Regions from separate parts of the Homo sapiens genome. Here region 1 is linked to region 2. Evidence: promoter capture Hi-C in 16 types of primary human blood cells and fetal thymus (Javierre and others, 2016). All regions are on one chromosome and are shown on one strand. The core of a region is centred on a gene start or on the middle of the fragment in contact, and the rest is flanking DNA. Distances in the headings are between cores, read along the strand shown. Region 1 holds the start of ANGEL2 (angel homolog 2). Region 2 holds the start of EPRS1 (glutamyl-prolyl-tRNA synthetase 1).

Region 1 (5,787 bases), core at 2,253-4,752, 7.0 Mb after region 2:
TCCAATCACCTCTTCAAGCTCTAATTCTAGTTCTCTTGCTATTTCTACTACATCTGTTGTTACTACCCCCACTGAAGTCTTGAACCCCTCAAAGCCAACCATGAGGGCTGGAATCAACTTCTCTCAAGCTCCTGTTAATGTGGAAATTTTGACCTCCTTCCATGAATCAAAATGTTCTGAAAGGCATCTAACATGGCAAATCTTTTCCAGAAGATTTGCATCAAAGATGGTGACTCCTTTCTAGAAGGTTTTTAATTTACTTTCCCCAGATCCTTCTGTGGCAGCTATAACCTTAGAAAATGTATTTCTTAAATGAGGGGACTTGAAAGTCAAAATTATTCCCTGATCCCATGGGCTGTAGAATGGATGTTGTGTTAGCAGGGATAAAATAACATTCAACTGAGAGCTCTTGGGTGACCAGGTGTATTGTTAATGAGCATAACGTTTTGAAAAGAGTCTTTTTTTCTAAGCACAAAAGTGTGCTTAAAATATTCAGTAGACCATGGTATAAACTGATGTGCTGTTGTCCAGGCTTTGTCTTCCATTGATAGAGGACAGGCAGAGTAGATTTAACAGAATTCTTAAGGGTCCTAGGATTTTCAGAATGATCAATGAGCATTGGCTTCTACTAAAAGCCACCAGCTCCATTAGCTGCTAACAAGAGACTCAGCCTGTCCTTTGAAGTGTTGAAGCCAGGTATTGACTTCTTTCTAGCTATGAAAGTCCTAGATGGCATCTTCTTCCAACAGAGGCTGTTTCATCTGCACAGAAAATCGGTTGTGTATTATAACCACCTTCATCAGTAATCAAAGCTGCATCTTCTAGATAACTTGCCGCAGCTTCTCCAACAGTACTTTCTGCTTCCGCATGCACTTTTATGTTATGGAGACAGCTTCTTTCCTTAAACCTCATGAAGCAACTTCTGCTAACTTCCAACTTGTCTTCTGCAGCATCCTCACTTCTCTCAGCCTTCATAGAATTGAAGAGAGTTAGGGCCTTACGCCGGACAAGGCTTTGATTTAAGGGAATGTTGTAGCTGGTTTGATCTTCTATATAGACCACTCAGATTTTCTCCATATCAGCAATAAGGCTGTTTTGCTTTCTTATCATGCCTTCATACACTGGAGTAGCATTTTTAATTTCCTTCAAGAACTTTTCCTTTGCATTCACAATTTGGTTAACTGTTTGGTGCAAGATGCCTGTCTTTGGGCCTATCTCAGCTTTTGTCATCCCTTCATTAAGCTTAATAATTTCTAGCTTTTGATTTAAAGATCTGTAACTCTTCCTTTCACTTGAACACTTAGGCACCATCGTAGGGTTATTAATTGGCCTAATTTCAATATTGTGTAGGGGACATGGAGGCCTGAGGAGAGGGAGAGAGACAGGGAATGGTTGGTCAGTCAGCAGAGCAGTCAGAACACACACATTTGTTAAGTTTGCCATCTTGAATGGGTGCAGTTTGTGGTGCCCCAAAACAATTACAATAGTAACATCAACGACCGCTGATCACAGATCACCATAATAGATATAAGAATGATGAAAATGTTTGAAATATGCGAGAATAACCAAAATGTTATACAGAGAAAGAAAGTGAGCACATGCTGTTGGAAAAATCGTTATCAATAGAATTGCAAAAGGGAGGGTTGCCACAAATCTTCAATTTGCAAAAAACAGAGTATCTGTGAAGCATAATAAAGTGAAGCACAATAACACAAGATATGCTTCTACAAACCAAAGAAAAACACACAATTACTGGAGAAGAAAATAAAAATTAGAAAAACAAAGACTCAGCAACATGCTTTTGCCATTTTAGATTTATCTCTGGGAGCAAGAAAATTGCCAGAACTCAGGCAATCCATGAAGTGTACTTTTACAGTGATAAAATTCACCTGCCTCTGTCAGATGAATACATTGGGCATCTTGGTGGGAACTACTGAACTTTTAAAAGATAATTTTCCAAAAAAAAAAAAAAAGGTAAAATCATGACTCTCAAACAGATATAATACGAACACATTAGTCATTTTATTTTATTTATTTTGAAACGGAGTCTCACTCTGTCACCCAAGGTGGAGTGCAGTGGTGCGATCTTGACTCACTGCAACTTCCGCCTTCTGGATTTAAGCGATTCTCATGCCTCAGTCTCCCAAGTAGCTGGGATTACAGGCATGAGCCACCACACCCAGCTAATTTTTGTCTATTTTTAGTAGAGACGGGGTTTCACCATGTTGGCCAGGCTAGTCTTGAACTCCTAACCTCAAGTGATCCGCCTGCCTTGGCCTTCCAAAGTGCTGGGATTACAGGCGTGAGCCCCTGCACCCAGCCATTTTATTTAACTCATTACATAGGTGAACCAGACAGATGTTATCACCTGTTCAAAGGAGAATCCAAAGAGCAGACATGTTTATAGATCAGAAATATTGATCTTGCAAATGGTGCAAAACTGGCTTTTTTGTTGTTGTTGTTGTTTAATTTATTATTATTATTATTATTATTATTATTATTATTTGCGATGGAGTCTCGCTGTGTCGCCCAGGCTGGAGTGCAGTGGCGCGATCTCGGCTCACTACAACCTCCATCTCCCAGGTTCAAGCGATTCTCCTGCCTCAGCCTCCTGAGTAGCTGAGATTACAGGCATGCCACCACACCTGCTAATTTTTGTATTTTTAGTAGAGAACGGATTTCACCATGTTGGTCAGGCTGGTCTCGAACTTCTGACCTCGTGATCCTCCCGCCTCAGCCTTTCAAAGTGCTAGGATTACAGGTGTGAGCCACTGCAGGCAGCCAAAACTGGCTTTTCCATAGAGATGGAGAGTTCTCCCCCCAACTAGGTAGAATTATTTTACAAGTCCATAGACAAAAATCATTTGCACTGCCACAAGCGCCCTGCAAGTTAACTTTAATCTTTGCAATAGTCTAGGCCCAGATAAAGGCAAATATCTTTTAGGATCAGATAAACCCCCAAATTCCAACACTGCATGAAAAGATATCTATTAATTTCTTTTACTTATTTAAAAATGTTACATTTCTCCTTACCTCTTAGGGTGTGCTAAAGGAAAAAGCTTCTGGTCATTCACAAGTCCCAAGTTCTGGCCCACTGTTAACCATTCATTCAAAAATATTTTTACTACTATATATTGTGTACTTAGCACAGCACTAGGTCAAGTAAATTTTGGAAATAATGAGTCATGGTCTTTCCTCAGAAGTTATTTACAATCTCATTATAAAGACAAGACATACAGTAAACTACTAGTCAATTTAATGAACTACAAAATTGTGAGTACAACTAGAAAATAGGGCAGTATAAAACAGAAATACAGTCTTTCTCCATTATTTGTGGATTCCATATTTGCAAATTTGCCTACTTGCTAAAATTGATCTGTAACCTCCATGTATTCTTGGACATGTACAGAGCAGGGAAAATTTTTAATTGCCCAAAGTGCACATTCCCAGCTGAGGCTAAACAAGGCATTCTCTGCCTTTTTGTTTCAGCTCTCATGCTATACCATAGTGTCCCCTTGTTGCCAGGGCTGGAGTACAGTGACACTATCTTGGTTCACTGCAGCCTCGCCCTCTCGGGCTAAAGTAATCCTTTCACCTCAAATTCTGGAGTAGCTGGGACTACAGACGAGAGCCACCATGCCCGGCTAATTTTTGTATTTTTTGTAGGGACGGGGTTTCGCCATGTTGTCCAGTGTGGTCTTGAACTCCCTGGCTGAAGCGATCCAGCCGCCTTGGCCTCCCATATTGCTGGGATTACAGGCGTGAGCCATCAGGACCAAGTGTCCTTTTCACATTCCATTTAGTGATATGTTTTTCACGTTTTTGTACTTTTTGTTGATGTTGCTGTTTAAAATGGTCCCCAAGCGTTGTGCTGTATAGTGCTCCTAAGCACAAGAAGGCTGTCATGAGCCTTGCAGAGAAAATAGCAGTGTTAGATAAGCTTTGTTGAGGTATGAATTATAGTGCTGTTGACTGAGTTCAATGTTAATGAATCAACAATATATATTAAATAAGATGTCTTTAAGCGGAAACACACATACAACAAAACTATGTATTGATTAAGTTGATGAAAATGCGACCAGAGGCTTACAGGATCCTAATCCTGTATTTCCCTTAGGAGTAATGATTCAGTATTTACTAATTCAGTGTTTCCAGCAACTTTACAGAACCTAACTACTGCAAATAACAAGAATCAATTACATACTGAGGGAAAGGTTTTTTTCAAATACACTTTACTTCCTTTTATGCACCAGGGATAAGAAAAGCCTTCCCAAGAAATTACCACTGTTTCAAAGAGCCTATAAAAGCAGTGCTCCTGCCTTCTAGTATCCTTTTCCCCTCTACTCTCCACACTTTATTCTTTCTCGGTTTCTCTCTTCCTGTTTCTTGCAGGGTCTCCACTTAAATAATGTCTTTCAACAATCTACAGTCCTATAATACATTTAATAAAGGTGGACACACAAGACATACAAGTACTTTTTTTTTTTTTTTTTTTTTTTTTGAGACGGAGTCTCGCTCTGTCGCCCAGGCTGGAGTGCAGTGGCTCGATCTCTGCTCACTGCAAGCTCTGCCTCCCAGGTTCACGCCATTCTCCTGCCTCAGGCTCCCGAGTAGCTGGGACCACAGGCGCCCGCCACCACGCCCGGCTAATTCTTTGTATGTTTAGTAGAGACGGGGTTTCACCGTGTTAGCCAGGATGGTCTCGATCTCCTGACCTCGTGATCCGCCCGCCTTGGCCTCCCAGAGTGCTGGGATTACAGGCGTGAGCCACCGCGCCCGGCCCATACACGTACATTTTAAAGTGAGAGCTATGGCTGTGCTTCCGCAACATTAATTGCAAAATTCTGTGGTACCTCAGTTCCATGGGCACCCAGAGGATGCGTTGTTCAGCCTCAGCTGGGAATCTGCACTTTGGGCAATTAAAAATTTTCACTGCTCTGTTTATTTCTGCCGGGCGCGGTAGCTCACTCCTGTAATCCCAGCACTTTGGGAGGCCGAGGCGGGCGAATCACTTGAGGTCAGGAGTTCGAAACCAGCCTGGCCAACATGGTGCAACCCTGTCTCTACTAAAAATTCAAAAATTAGCCGGGTGTGGTGGCTCATGCCTGTAATCCCAGCTACTTGGCAGGCTGAGGCAGGAGAATCGCTTGAACCCGGGAGGTGGAGGTTGCAGTGAGCCGAGATCGTGCCATTGCACTACAGCCTGGGCGACAAGAGCGAAACTCCATCTCAAAAAAAAAAAAAGAAAGAAAGAAAGAAAAAGAAAAAAAAGAAAGTTTATTTCTGTTTCTTTAAGACGAAGTTCGGGTGTTTTGCCCTCTTCAGAAATGGTTGCACGCGCGTCCCACGCTCTGCGCATGCTCCTTGAGCAGAATTCCGGGTTAAGGCATTCAGGGACTCTGACTGCGCAAGATGGAGTGTAGGCCGGCCGGCGAGACTGCACCTCCCAGCATGCCTTGCAGCCAGGACTGGAGTCGGTACTTAAGAGTGATGGGGTTCCCTAGATACTTTAGGCCGTCGCATCGATTATAGAGATTGAGGTGGAACCCGGGGCCTGGGAACTGGACGCACGCGGAGGGCGAAGATGGAAGCCTGGCGCTGTGTGAGGAAGGGCTACGGCCACTGTGTGGTGGGAAGAGGCCGGTCAGTAGGGCTGGGTACTCGGAGGGAGGAGAGAGGGGCGGGCGGCCTGAAAGAGCGGGCGGGCGTCCGGGACTAACCCGGGGCGGGGCGGGGCGGGCTAGGGGTGGAAGGAAGAGGAAGAGGGTCTGGGCGATGGTGCATCCG
Region 2 (5,637 bases), core at 2,637-5,136:
GGGGGGCTGAGGTGGGAAGATCGCTTGAGCCCAGGAGATTGAGACTGCAGTGAGCTATAATCGTGCCACTGGACTACAGCCTGCTCTGTCTAAAAAAAAAAAAAAAAAAGTTTGGGCGTGGTGGTTCACACCTGTAATCCCAGCACAGAATCCCAGCACTTTGGGAGGCTGAGGCAGGTAGAACACCTGAGGTTGGGAGTTTGAGACCAGCCTGGGCAACATGGTGAAATCCCGTCTCTACTAAAAATACAAAAATTAGCTGGGCATGGTGGCACACACCTGTAATCCCAGCTACTCAGGAGGCAAAGGCAAGAGAATTGCTTGAACCAGGGAGGCGGAGGTTGCAGTGAGCCCAGATCATGCCAGTGCACTCTAGCCTGGGCAACAAAATGAGACTCTATCTCAAAAAAAAAAAAAAGGCTTCTTGAGGACAGGGACTTCACCTTTCATCTCTGTATCTCCTGTTTATGTACACAATAATAAGGAGTGAAAATCCAATACCCATTCTTGATTTTAAAAAGAATCCAGGGCTGGGCACGGTGGCTCAGGCCTGTAATCCCAGCACTTTGGAGGCCGAGGCGGGCAGACCACCTCAGGTCAGGAGTTCGAGATAAGCCTAGCCAACATGATGAAACCCCATCTCTGCTAAAAATACAAAAATTAGCTGGGCGTGGTGGCAGGTGCCTGTAATCCCAGCTACTTTGGAGGCTGAGGCAGGAGAATCACTTGAACCCAGGTGTCGGAGGCTACAGTGAGCCAATATCATGCCGTTGCACTCTAGCCTGGGCAACGAGAGCGAAACTCTGTCTCAAAAAGAAAAAAAAAAACCCTGTTAACCTAAGAATATATAAGAAACCAGCGGCAAACACTATTCTTTTTTTATTTTTATTTTCAGGGAAAGGGTCTTGTTCTGTCATCCAGGCTATAGTGCGGTGGCGCGATCATAGCTCACTGTACCTTCAAACTCCTGGTCTCAGGTGATCCTCCCATCTGGGCCTGCCAAAGTGCTGACATTACCAGCAAGAGCCATTGCAGCCAACCTAGCAGACACTATTCTTTTTTTTTTTTTTTTGAGACAAAGTTTTGCTCTTATTGCCCAGGCTGGAGTGCAATGGTGCCATCTAGGCTCACTGCAACCTCTGCCTCCTGGGTTCCAGTGATTCTCCTGCCTCAGACTGCCAAGTAGCTGGGACTACAGGCATGCACCACTACTCCAGGCTAATTTTGTATTTTTAGTAAAATGACGCGGTTTCACCATATTCACCAGGCTAGTCTCGAACTCCGGACCTCAGGTGTTCTGCCTACCTCAGCCTCCCAAAGTGTTGGGATTACAGGTATGAGCCATTACACCTGGCTTACAGACACTATTCTTTAACATTTTTTTTTTTGAGACGGACTTTTTGCTCTTGTTGCCCCGGGCTGGAGTACAGTGGCATGATCTCTGCTCACTGCAACCTCCAGCTCCCAGGTTCATGCGATTCTCCTGCCTCAGCCTCCTGAGTAGCTGGGATTACAGGCATGCACCACCACGCCCAGCTAATTTTGTATTTTTAGTAGAGACAGGGTTTCACCATGTTGATCAGGCTGGTCTCGAAGTCCTCTACTTAGGTGATCCACCCACCTCGGCCTCCCAAGTGCTGGGATTACGGGTGCGAGCCACCGTGCCCGGCCACAGACACTATTCTTGATAATGCAACATTAGCGGCATTCCCACTAAAGTCAGGAACAAAGCAAATACTCTCTTATTCGACACTATTATTGCTCCCATTTAACATCATTCTGGAAGTTCTAGCCAATGAAAGAGATAAGATATAGGTCATGTAAATTTTGGATAGGAAGAAAATGATATTTACCTAGAAAATCCAACATAACTAAAAAATGATTGGAACTAGTAAAAGCATCCAACAAGATGGTAACTCTAAGACCTAAGACTTTCTGCTATAAGTCCCACTATCCTGAAAGTAGGCTTCTTTTTTTTTTTTTTTTTTTTTATTGAGATGAAGTTTTGCTCCTGTTACCCAGGCTGGAGTGCAATGGCGTGATGTCAGCTCACCGAAACCTCTGCCTCCCAGGTTCAAGCGATTCTCTGGCGTCAGCCTCCCGAGTAGCTGGGATTACAGGCATGCACCACCACACCCAGCTATTTTTTTGTATTTTTACTAGAGATGGGGTTTCTCCATGTTGGCTTGGCTGGTCTCAAACTCTCGACCTTAGGTGATCCGCCCGCCTCAGCTTCCCAAAGTGCTGGGATTACAGGCATGAGCCACCGCGCCTGGCCTCAAGTCTCATGGGAGATGTAATCTAAGGGGCCCTCCCTAATGAAAACAAGGATGTCTTGGGGAGGTTAAGAAAAAGTGTAGGCGAGGATGTGGTTGAGATGGTTCTTGGAATCCATCCCGGGTCCCCGTACTTTAACACCAGCCCTTGAAATATGGGTGCAGCTCACACACACGAATGTGTGTATACACCTTGGAGTATCTCTGGAGCTCATGCATGCACGTCCGTCACAAAGGATTTGAAAGGGAGAATCAGATGAGACGCTGAAAAAAACACCTGTGGACTCCATGATTGGGGGCGGCATCGGAGGGTTTTTTTGTTTTGTTTTTTAGATCAGGTCTCTCCCTGTGTCGGCCAGGCTGGAGGGTAGTGGCTACTCACAGGCAAGTCCACGGCGAGGCCACTACAGCCTCATCTTCCTGGGCTCAGGCGATCCTGCCTCAGCCTTCTTAATAGCTGAGACTACAGGAGCGCGCCACTGCGCCTATCTGCAGTGATTTTTTGTTTGTTTTGAAACGGGGTCTCAGTCTGTCGCCCAGGCTGGAGTGCAGTGCCGCGATCTCGGCTCACCGCAACCTCCTCCTCCCGGGTTCAAGCGATTCTCCTGCCTCAGCTCCCCAAGTAGCTAGGATTAAAGGTGCGCGCTACCATTCCCGGCTAATTTTTGTACTTTTAGTAGAGACCCCCGTCTCTACAGTTTCACCATGTTGGTGAAGCTGGTCTCCAACTCCTGACCTCGAGATCCGCTCGCCTCCGGCCTCCCAAAGTGCTGGGATTACAGGCCTGAGCCACCGCGCCCGGCCTCTGCTGTGATTTTTTTTTTTTTTCTTTTCGAGAAGGAGTCTCACTCTGTCGCCCAGGCTGGATGCAGTAGCACGATCTCGGCTCACTGCAACCTCCACCTCCCAGGTTCAAGCGATTCTCCTGCCTCAGCCTCCCAAGTAGCTGGGATTACAGGGGCCCACCACCATGCCAGGCTAATTTTTGTATTTTTAGTAGAGATGGGGTTTCACCATGCTGGCCAGACTGGTCTCGAACTCCTGACCTCAGGTGATCCGCCCGCCTACACCTTCTAAAGTGCTGAGATTACAGGCGTGAGCCACCACGCCCGGCCTGCAGTGATTTTTAAAGAGTCTTTTATATTTCCTTTAACCATTATTTTCAACACGCAAATAACTCTTGAAAATACGTTCTTGTTTTGGAAAAAAAAAAACGGGGGGGAATGTATAAAATAAACAACGAGAAAAACTTCTCCCATTCCCAACGTAATCATGGCTATCGTGTGTATGCTTCCAGGACTTTTCTTTTTACATAAAGACAGTGCATGCTTTTGTTTCGTGCTTCACATAAACGCCTATCCCATCTTAAAGATGGTTTTACAACCTGCTGTTTTACGACCTGCTGACTTGACGAAGTGTCGTAAAGTCCCGTCCACTTCAGCGTCTTTCCCACCGCAGCACGAAAGGCCACGCAGGCCGTTCTAACCCTGGCGGCCAAGAGGAGGGGTAGCAGGCTCTGGAACCTGCGGGCGGGGACGAAGACGGCGCGCGACGATGTCGCACCGCGGCGTGCGCGGTGTCGGCAGTAGCTGCGGCGCAGGGGCGGAGCGAAGGCTGCGGCGGCGTCGGGTACGCGCACACGTTGCATCTTCTTCCTTTCGCGGGGTCCTCCGTAGTTCTGGCACGAGCCAGGCGTACTGACAGGTGGACCAGCGGACTGGTGGAGATGGCGACGCTCTCTCTGACCGTGAATTCAGGAGACCCTCCGCTAGGTAAGGGGCCGAGACCAATGACCTGTGTGGGTTGCATCAGCCAGGGAGGGTGCAGGGCGTGGAAGGTCGCTGCGCCCCGGCTTTGCGCAGTGGTGGTCACCATCTGGGATGTTGGACCTGCCCCTCGCCCCAGAATTGTACGTGGAGGAGGCTCCGCACCCCTCGCCCCGTGTCCCCGGCAGGTGCATCTGCTCCTGAAGATGGTTTTCCCGGGCATGGAGGGAGGCGCAGTGTGAGCCCGGGCTAGACAACACGAGACTCCGCTTCGGATCTTTTTCTCAGAGGGATGAACTCCCAGTCAACTCACCTCTCCCTTTTTCCCCCGGAGAGCGAGAGTTGCTCGTGGAAATAAGATTTTAAAACTTAAAATCCAATAGTCGTCGCTTCTCTTTTAGCATTTTTCCCCCAACTCCTTTTCTTACCTCCTTTCCTGTCCTGTCCCTCCTCTCAGGAGAAATCCTCAGTTCACTTGAGTCAAATTTTCCTTACGTTTTATCGAGTTCAGAAGAAATAACCCAGACGAGCATATTAGCATTTAGGATTTCAACTGAGGCTGCATTTATTTTTAATTAAATGTGGTAGGGTAATTGGGGAAAACACCCAGGTACACTGTAGACTGATGCGGTTGCTTTTACTGCACCCTGTGGATGTGTAGTAAATTTCAGAGTAAACATTGGATCTGTCACCTTACTGACACATCTTAAGTTCTGTTTGGAATTATTTTTTCGACATGACCAAGATTATTGTTGGTAGATTGCTTAGAATTTCTGCTTTTTCATTACTTTGGGAAATTACACAGAAGAATTTAAGTAGTTTGCCGATTTTTTTTTTTCTTTTGAGAGTCAGGGTCTTGCTCTATCGTCCAGGCTGGAGTGCAGTGGCGCTTTCAAGGCTCACTGCAGCATCGAACTTCCGGGCTCAGATGATCCTCCCACCTCAGCCTCCTTAGTAGCTGGGACTACAGGCGCGTGCCACCATGCCTGGCTAATTTTGTGTTTGTGTCTTTTTTGGAAAGATGGCGTTTCACTGTGTTGCCCAGGCAGGTCTCAAACTCCTGGGCTCAAGCCATCCTGACTTGGCCTCCCAAAGTACTAGGATTACAGGCGTGAGCCACAGTACCCAGCCTGACCTAATATTTGTTAATGCATATGTATGATAATACACACACAGTACTTTCTAATGTTGAAGAAGCCCATACCTTTATATACAGTTGACCACGTGGGGCTGATGAAATTATTCATTATATTCTCAACTTTGGTGATGTTTTAAGGTTGTTGAACAAAAACACAACTTAATAGCCATTTTAAACATTTAAAAGATGGTAATGTTTTGGCATATTGGTTGCAGTAATGGACTAACCGCACAACAAATCAATGAACTCTAAAAGGAATGGGTTTGATTCCTGAGCTGGAAAGGCATTAGAGTGCCTTCATGATTGAGAGCAAAGACATTTGGTTTCTGCAGACCTGAGTCCAATCCTGGCTGCCACTTACTAGTTGTGAAACCTTGACAAGTTCCTTATTTAGCTTCTCCCATAGTTTCCTTGTTTTAAGAAAGGGAGAATAATGTCTTCCAGATAGGATTGGTTG

Evidence for each region. Contacts are between HindIII fragments. The CHiCAGO score rates a contact against its expected background, and 5 or more counts as called.
Region 1: a fragment that was not itself captured here is called in contact with the fragment with the promoter of EPRS1 in region 2 in 1 of 17 cell types (activated CD4 T cells); the score reaches 5.2 in activated CD4 T cells.

What each region holds. Positions count from the first base shown.
Region 1 is chr1:213,015,469-213,021,255 of GRCh38, reverse strand. It overlaps ANGEL2 (angel homolog 2), which reads left to right and starts at 5,389. Exons shown (of 9, transcript NM_144567.5): 1 at 5,389-5,643. The coding sequence starts at 5,585. RefSeq lists enhancers at 5,354-5,663, 5,376-5,787. The HindIII fragment of the contact is 881 bases long and covers 3,062-3,942 here.
Region 2 is chr1:220,044,754-220,050,390 of GRCh38, reverse strand. It overlaps EPRS1 (glutamyl-prolyl-tRNA synthetase 1), which reads left to right and starts at 3,886. Exons shown (of 32, transcript NM_004446.3): 1 at 3,886-4,048. The coding sequence starts at 4,003. RefSeq lists enhancers at 3,675-3,744, 3,805-4,134, 4,176-4,733. The HindIII fragment of the contact is 10,455 bases long and covers 1-5,637 here.